2 separate regions of the Homo sapiens genome follow, and region 2 is linked to region 1. The links are contacts of gene promoters, found by promoter capture Hi-C in human tissues and cell types (Jung and others, 2019). All regions are on one chromosome and are shown on one strand. The core of a region is centred on a gene start or on the middle of the fragment in contact, and the rest is flanking DNA. Distances in the headings are between cores, read along the strand shown.

Evidence for each region. Contacts are between HindIII fragments. The study calls those that stand out against the background at their distance.
Region 2: a fragment that was not itself captured here is called in contact with the fragment with the promoter of NSUN4 in region 1 in 1 of the 25 tissues and cell types used here (aorta).

The regions. Positions count from the first base shown.
Region 1 is chr1:46,338,474-46,342,380 of GRCh38, reverse strand. NSUN4 (NOP2/Sun RNA methyltransferase 4) reads right to left here and starts at 1,574. Exons shown (of 6, transcript NM_199044.4): 1 at 1,462-1,574. The coding sequence starts at 1,554. RefSeq lists enhancers at 287-376, 1,504-1,713, 2,374-3,173. The HindIII fragment of the contact is 4,996 bases long and covers 1-3,907 here.
Region 2 is chr1:46,135,528-46,139,540 of GRCh38, reverse strand. The region is part of intron 1 of P3R3URF-PIK3R3 (P3R3URF-PIK3R3 readthrough); the gene reads left to right. LOC101929626 (a long non-coding RNA gene) reads right to left here. Exons shown (of 3, transcript NR_125987.1): 3 at 460-674. It also overlaps a transcript of PIK3R3 not described here. Among named protein-coding and RNA genes, the nearest start is that of PIK3R3, 4.9 kb to the right of the region's middle. The HindIII fragment of the contact is 9,955 bases long and covers 1-4,013 here.

The sequences.
Region 1 (3,907 bases), core at 325-2,824:
AGGTGAGCTGGGAGAGCCAGGCATGCCTGCCTGAGAAGAGAGTGGGAAGCCACAACAATTTTTCTCAAGGGGCAGGTCAAGCTGTGGTTTGGGTTCACAAGAGTCTAGAGGCTTAAGGCTGCCATGGTAAAAGCTGCCAGTAGGTGGGGAAGATGCTGGGGAGAGAAGGGGGTCATTATAACTTCTCCCTGAGAACCAGTGAGAGGGCAGAGAGATCATCAGCCCAGTTTCCAAAACTCTGTGAGAAAGGGTTGGGGAGGCCATAGGACTAGTTTCCACCGGCCGGCGAGCAAGAGGAGGTGAAATCGTGAGGCAAGTTCCCGGGGTCCTATGTGTAGGAGGAGGCGAAATCATGGGTCCAGTTTCCAAGGGTACATGAGTGAGCTGAGGGGAGGTCACTGGGCTCGTTCCCGGGGACTGATGAGCAAGGGGAAAGGAGGTTGCCGGGCTGGTTCCAAAAGCTGAAGGCCATCCGCTAGAGTAACAGAGATTAGTGTGCTGGTCACAGTACGTGCCTTGAAGACAGGGACGCCGCATTCTGGAGGGACTCATCCAGCTGCAATAAGGTGTCCGCTGACAGAGAGGGGGTGACCCCGGAATGCTGAACTGCTCAAAATAAGGGCTGGAGAGTGGGGAACCCGAGTGGCAGGGCTAGCGGCAGTAGGTCCTTTCCAGGAGTGGGGAAGAGGACTCAAAAGACCATCTCCCTGAGTGCGAGGAAGGTTGTGGGGGTGGAAGAGATGGTGGAGGTGGCGAGGGAATCGGCTGGGGTGGGCAGGGGGGCGTGCCGGTCATAGAAGAAATTCCAGGGCTTCCAGTGAGGCAAGAAAAAGGGTCTCTGGAGAAGCAAGGAGAGTCCAGAGGATGAGAGGATTCGTTGCACCTTTTGCCAGGGTTTGGGCCGGCAGTATGGACAGGGTGGTCGCTGTAACCTTGCCCGGTCGCCAGAGGCAGCTCGAGGTTGAGGAAGGGGCTGAATCCTTTCCTGCAAGGCGGCGGAGACCCAGGAGTGCAGGCAAGGTCGCTATGGTATTTTCCGAGGGGTGAGGGCGACCGGGCTGGAAAATCAATGAGGAAAGGAGAAGTCATGTGGGGGAAGAATGGGCAAGGGAAAGGGGGAGGGGAGGGAGGGAAGTAAAAGGGGGAGTGGGGGACAGAAAGGTAGGTGGACACAGCTGGGGAACAAGAGACAGTGACATCACTAAAAGAATGAAGGCGAAGGTGATGACGCAACTTGGGCGGAGTCAGGAGACTGCAGACGTAACAAGTGGAAGACACTAACGCTCGGGACATAGAGTGCGGACAGAGGCGGTGACGGAAAAGACGAGAGAGGGAGGTGCCTAAGGACGTTCCGTGGAGTGCTTGGGAAAGACGCTAGGCGTTCTAGAGGGCCGGGAAACGGAAAGACTGGAGAAGTTTCCACCCTCACTTTTCCCTCCTGCGCCCCCAGCCGGACCTTACCCATTTCTTCTTATATCGATGTCTCCGCGGGACCGTCGCGAGGTCCACACGCTTCAGCAGCTCCCGGACACCCCTCAGTGTCAGCGCAGCCATATCGGCGTGCTCCACGGGGTAATTCCGACCGGAACCGCGACAGGAGACTCGCGTGTTCCGGGGAGGTGGTGAGCGCCACCCGGCGGGACACGAGCGAAAAAAGGGAAAGGAAATACATCTGACGCTCTCCCAGGACTCCGCGCGCCTCTACAGACTCCGCCCAGCCAGGAGTCCCCTGAAGGCTGCTGGAAAAAGAGCAACCTGGCACCCGGAATAATGACTCTGCCTGGATGCTTAGAGCAGTGCGAGGGACTCCCAAGAAGCCCCTAGCCCACTTGGGGGACCAGGGAGGATTAGGAGTTGGTGGTTGAGTACCGAAAGAGTTAGCTAGGCGAAAAGGGGCGGGAAGGGCCTCCTAGGCCGAAATTGCATGGAGGAAGATCCTTAGGTAGAGGAAAATGAGACCAGGCTTGTAGGCAGAAGCAGATTTGCAGTGAAACAAATGAAGCTTAAGTTTCGGGACCTGGCCGGGCGTGGTGGCTCACGCCTGTAATCCCAGCACTTTGGGAGGCCGAGGCGAGCAGATCACGAGGTCAGGAGATCGAGACCCTCCTGGCTAACACGGTGAAACCCCGTCTCTACCAAAAATACAAAAAATTAGCCGGGCGAGGTTGCTGGCGCCTGCAGTCCCAGCTACTCGGGAAGCTGAGGGATGGCGTGAACCCGGGAGGCGGAGCTTGCAGTGAGCCCAGATCGCGCCACTGCACTCCAGCCTGGGCGACAAAGCGAGACTCCGTCTCAAAAAAAAAAAAAAAAAAAAAAAAAGTGGAGGCGTGAATAACCCACCCCTTGTTTAGCGTACCATCAAGAAATAACCATAAAAATGGGCAAGCAGCCCTTGGAGCTGCTCTATCTATGGACTATCCATTCTTTTATTCTTGTACTTTAATAAACTTGCTCTCACTTTGCATTGCGGACTCGCCCTGAATTCTTTCTTGTGCGAGATCCATGAACCTCTCTTGGGGTCCGGATCGGGACCCCTTTCTGGTAACAATGCCTGTAATCCCAGCCAATCTCCCTGCCTTTTGATCTCCCTGCCTCACTCCTACCCACCCTGATAATTGGCTGTTGAATGATCATTTAAAAACACAGTTTCTGATCATGTCCCTCCTCTCCACTGGATCCCTACTGGTGATGTCAAATGTTGTGGGGCCTAACGCTTCCGCAATTTGAGAAGACATAGTTAAGAAAAATAATACAAAACTTGGCCGGGCGCGGTGGCTCACGCTGCCCCCAGCCGAAAGCTTTTTCTTATTTGGCATTTGAATGTGGAATTTTGGAATTTTCTTATTGGCAACAAATACTGTCAGTTATTTTCCTTGAAGTGACAGGCTCACTTTGTTCATTTTTCAAGAAAAAGGCTGGCCGGCACTGTGGCTCATTCCTGTAATCCTAGCACTTGGGAGGCCGAGGTGGGTGGATCACCTGAGGTCAGGAGTTGGAGACCAGCCAGGCCAACGTGGTGAAACCCAGTCTCTACTAAAAATACAAAAATTAGTTGGGCATGGTGGCTCATGCCTGTAATCCCAGCTACTTGGGAGGCCGAGGCAGGAGAATAACTTGAAACCAGGAGGCAGAGGTTGCAGTGAGCTGAGATCATGCCACTGCACTCCAGGCTGGGCAACAGAGTGAGACTCTGTCTCAAAAGAAAAATTCTAGTATATTAAAATATAATTGATTTTTTCTGTTGACCTTGTATCCTGAGACCTTCCTAAACTCAATTATTACTTTTGGTAACTTTTTGGAAATCTGTTCAGGTTTTCTATGCATATGGTCATGTCTTTTGTAAATAAAGACACTTTAACTTCTTTCTTTTCTATCTATATCCCTTTTTTTTTTCTTTGCTTTATTCCACTGGCTAGGACTTCCAGTACACAGTTGAATGTAAGTGGTGATGGTAGGCATCCTTGCCTTGTTCCCATTCTTAAGAAGAAAGCATTTAGTACTTCACCATTATATATGATGTTAGCTGTAGTTTTGTGTGTGCGTGTACCTGCATGTGTATAGATGTCCTTTCTTAGGTTTAGAAAGTTCCCTTCTGTTCCTAGTTTGCTGAGATTTTAAAAAATCATGATAGTTGTTGATTTTCCTTAAGTTTTTTTTTTTTTTCTGTTAAGATGATCATACAGTTTTACTCCTTTTTTTTTTTTTTCTTTTTGACGGAGTTTCGCTCTGTCACCAGGCTGGAGTGCAGTGGTGCCATCTCGGCTCACTGCAACCTCCGCCTCCTAGGTTCAAGCAATTATTCTGCCTCAGCCTCCTGAGTAGCTGTTATCACAGGCATGCACCACCACGCCTGGCTAATTTTTGTATTTTTAGTAGAGATGGGGTTTCACCGTGTTGGCCAGGCTGG
Region 2 (4,013 bases), core at 626-3,125, 200 kb after region 1:
GAGGTCAGGAGTTCAAGACCAGCCTGGTCAACATGGTGAAACCCCATCTCTACTAAAAATAGAAAAAATTAGCCAGGCATGGTGGTGGGCACCTGTAATCCCAGCTTCTCAGGAGGCTGAGGCAGGAGAATTGCTTGAACCGGGGAGGCAGAGGTTCCAGTGAGCCCAGATCATGCCATTGTACTCCAGCCTGGGCAGCAAGAGTGAAACTCCGTCTCAAAAAGAAAAAAAAAAAAAGAAGCACGTGGGTCAGCAAAAGTGTTCTCATAAGTCTCCCTTAGTAGGTGGTGGGTTCATAAAGGGCAGAAATAGTGTCTTATGGGGTACTGAGCAAAAGATCTGACCCACGGGAGGGACTCAGTTGAATTAAACTGAAAGAGCTTGTCATTTTGAACTGTTCTTCCTGTTTACCATTAACATTTAATTAATCTACTTTAGGCACAATTATCATATTGCATATTTGGTATATGTGATGGCCAATTATATTTTTTGTTTATTTGAAAATATATTGCTTTTGAACGTATACACCCATGACATAATTTAGAATTTCACACACTGACATCAACAGGGAAGGAATAGGGTCCCGAATGAAGTTTGGAGAATAGTAGTGATCTTCACCGAATGTCTCCTTTCCAAGAAGTGTAAGATGAGCAGAATGGAAGGTAGCCTCTACCCTGGAAGAAAATCACTGTAAGTGTATCATTTTCAATCAAATGCTCAAAGCTGAGGACACAAACAATCATGTTCATGCCTTTTACATTCCATGCTTATACTTTCTTACCCAAGTGGTGATCTTTAAACCCTAGAAGTCACACCATTTTCCCAGATTTCAAGAATGATGCCCCTGCAGAAGTGTTTGGGGAGGCTGCAGGACTTTGTTTTTGAGACAAGGTCTCACTCTGTGCCCAGGCTGGGAGCAGTGGCACTATCTTGGCTCACTGCAGCCTTGACCTTCTGGGCTAAAGCGATCCTCTGGCCTCAGCCTCCCAAGTAGCTGGGACTACAGGAGCACACCACCACACCTAGCTGATTTTTTTAATTTTGTAGAGACAGGGATCTCCATATGCTACTCAGGCTGGTCTTGAACTCCTGAGCTCAAGTGATCCTCCTGCCTCAGCCTCCCAAAGTGTTAGGATTATGGGCGTGAGCCACCATGCCTGGTCTTTTTATCTTTTTAAACCAAAATTATCCAATAAGGGAACTGGACTGATATTGCCCTCTAACAATGAAACGTATAAAATGGTTTTTAGATTTGAGACCTGTGGAATTACAGGGCAATTATTGGACATTCCAGAAAGAAGGCATAAACTACAAGTTGCTCAAAGCTATTGAAATAATGACCACAGGAAGTGAGCATGCTTTAAAGCCCTATATGGTGTTATATTTCAGAAAAAAGCTGAGCTGGAAAATGAAACCAGTTTCTCTTCTAGCTGCTGAATTTTCCTGAATTTCCTACAAACTGCTTGGAATTTTGCAAACAATTCACAGCTGATAAAATAAAAGGGCAGCGGAACTCAGCGTCTGTGGTGAAGACCCTAGGGTCAGCCAGAGGGAGGGAAAGGTCATTGTCTGCCCCTCTTGGTTCCTGTAGCCAAAGAACTGTACAAGTTTTTGGTTTTCTTTTCCTCCGTTTAAATAAACAAAGTCAGCTGAATACCTACAGAAAGGATTACTAGGATAATTTGAACTTAGACTCCCCAGAGCCTTCCTGGAGAGTTTACTTGCACTTTTGCTTATTCGCTCGAAGAATATTCACTGGCTACCCACTGTGTGCCAGGCCTTGGGCTGGGCATTGATGGTTAAAGGACCATGAGGAACCACTGTTGTCCAACATGAGGAACTCTAAAGAGTGATAGGAGAGAGAACTGGAAGCAAACACTTTGAACATGGTGTGCCAAGGGCTGTGCAGAGGCCAGCACAGGGGTCTGTGTGAGCACAATGTATAAGATCAGATGCAGAGAAGTAGGAGTTTGCCACTTTCTAATGGAATCAGCTTTCGACGAAACTTTTTCAGGCTTAGAGTTAATTGTGAATTGCGAAAACTGAGAAGTAAAGGACCACACATTTAAAGCAGGTGCATGCAAGTCTGGGGCAGCCAAATGTCACCTCTTCCAGGAAGCTTCTACTCACCTGCACATGGTTAGAGATCAGCACTGTTTTTGGGGCTCCCCCAACACACTTTGTCAAATTCTTGATTATAGCGCTTATTGTGTCTTTAATTATTTATTCCTTTGTTGGTCCCTCCTCTATGAATTCTGGACTCAATGTTAGGGACTCAGTCTTATTCACTTTTGTATCTTCAGTGTTTGGAAGCACCAACAAACATTTGCTAAGTGAGTGAATGGGAGAGGAAGGCTGTGTGGTGCAGCGGGAAAGGCAATGAACTGGTAGTCAGGACATGGGGCTCTAATCCTGACTCTGCTACTAGTGACTGCATGACTTTGAACAAATCCCCTCATTGCTCTGGGTCTCAATTTCCTCATCTGTAAAATGAGAATAAAAATACAGCCTTCCACCCCAGGGTTATGGAGATTAAATGAGGTAACAGAGCTTCACCAGCTGCCTGCCCTGTTTGTGCCCTGTCCTCCTGAAACAGCCTGGACTATTGTTCCTGCCATTTGGATCTAATTTGTGCTCTCTCCCCTGGTGAGAGCTGAGCTGAAATCTGTTGCCTTGTTGGAGGGGAAGTTTGCAGCAATGGCATACATATTATCCAGTTGGCCCCTGTGTTACTACAAGGGCAGACATCAAAAGTGAGGAAGATGTCAAGCTAGAGAGATTTGCTTCTTTTGTTACCCCTAAACCTAAATGAGGACCCAAAGTGGGAAGAGTGAGGCAGAGCAGATCTACATCACATGCTGAGGTGTATAAGTGAGGCCTCAAACATTGTCCCCTAAGCCCTGGAATTCAGCAGCATCTAGGGGAATGCCACTTTAATGAAGTCTACTCATTCATATAATGTCATAATTTCTCAGTGCCTTGGGTTAAATGATTAACTCTATCATGGGTATTCAAGTGCTAAGAAAGATGAGGAAAGGTAAAAAATTGCAAATGCCAAATACAAGGAATACCATTTGGAAAAAATGGAAAATCACGATTTTAGACACTGCTGTCTCAAGAGATGACTATTGATTTTCAGGTGAGATGTCTTTCCAGAAGATCCACTAACATGGTTCTTTGTACATTGTGAAGGCAAACTTTTCCATCAAAACTTGATATATCTTCTACTTACAAGTCAAGTGTCTGGGGAGGCCCTAAAAATCTGCAACTGATAATTTGTAGGGCTTTCTGGGAGTCATATTTGTTAAATGAGTTTATTTAATTGCATGGACTGGGCCTTATCACAAGACAAGTGGTCAAGGGAAAATGGTGAGAGAAGAAAAAGAAGGTATTGAGGCTGGTAGAATCCCTACCCAAAGTCTAAAGTCAGTTCTGGTGCTAATGCTAGTGATCAAAAAAAAAAAAAAAAAGTATATTTCCATTTTGCAAGGCTTTTTTTTTTTTTTTTTTTGAGACTGAGTCTCGCCCTGTTGTCCAGGCTGGAGTGCAATGGCGTGATGTCGGCTCACTGCAACCTCTGCCTCCTGCATTCAAATGATTCTCCTGCCTCAGCCTCCCGAGTAGCTGGGATTACAAGCGCTTGCCAACATGCCCAGCTAATTTTTTTATTTTTAGTATAGACGGAGTTTCACCACGTGGGCCAGGCTGGTCTCAAACTCCCGACCTCGTGATCTGCCCACCTCAGCCTCCCAAAGTGCTGGGATTACAGGCATGAGCCACCGTGCCCGGCCCCATTTTGCAAGGCTTTTAAAAAAATATTGTGCGCTCAGATGGCACCTTTAATCACGAAGAACTTCTGGCTGAGTTCCAGACTGATTCTGCTGGCACAGAGAGCTCTGAGATCATACCCTATATTCAGAGCACAGAAGAAATATTTCATCCATCTCTGAAATAAAGAGGAAGAAATGAAGCATATTTGAACAGTTGCAGAAAAAAACCATACCAGGGTGAAA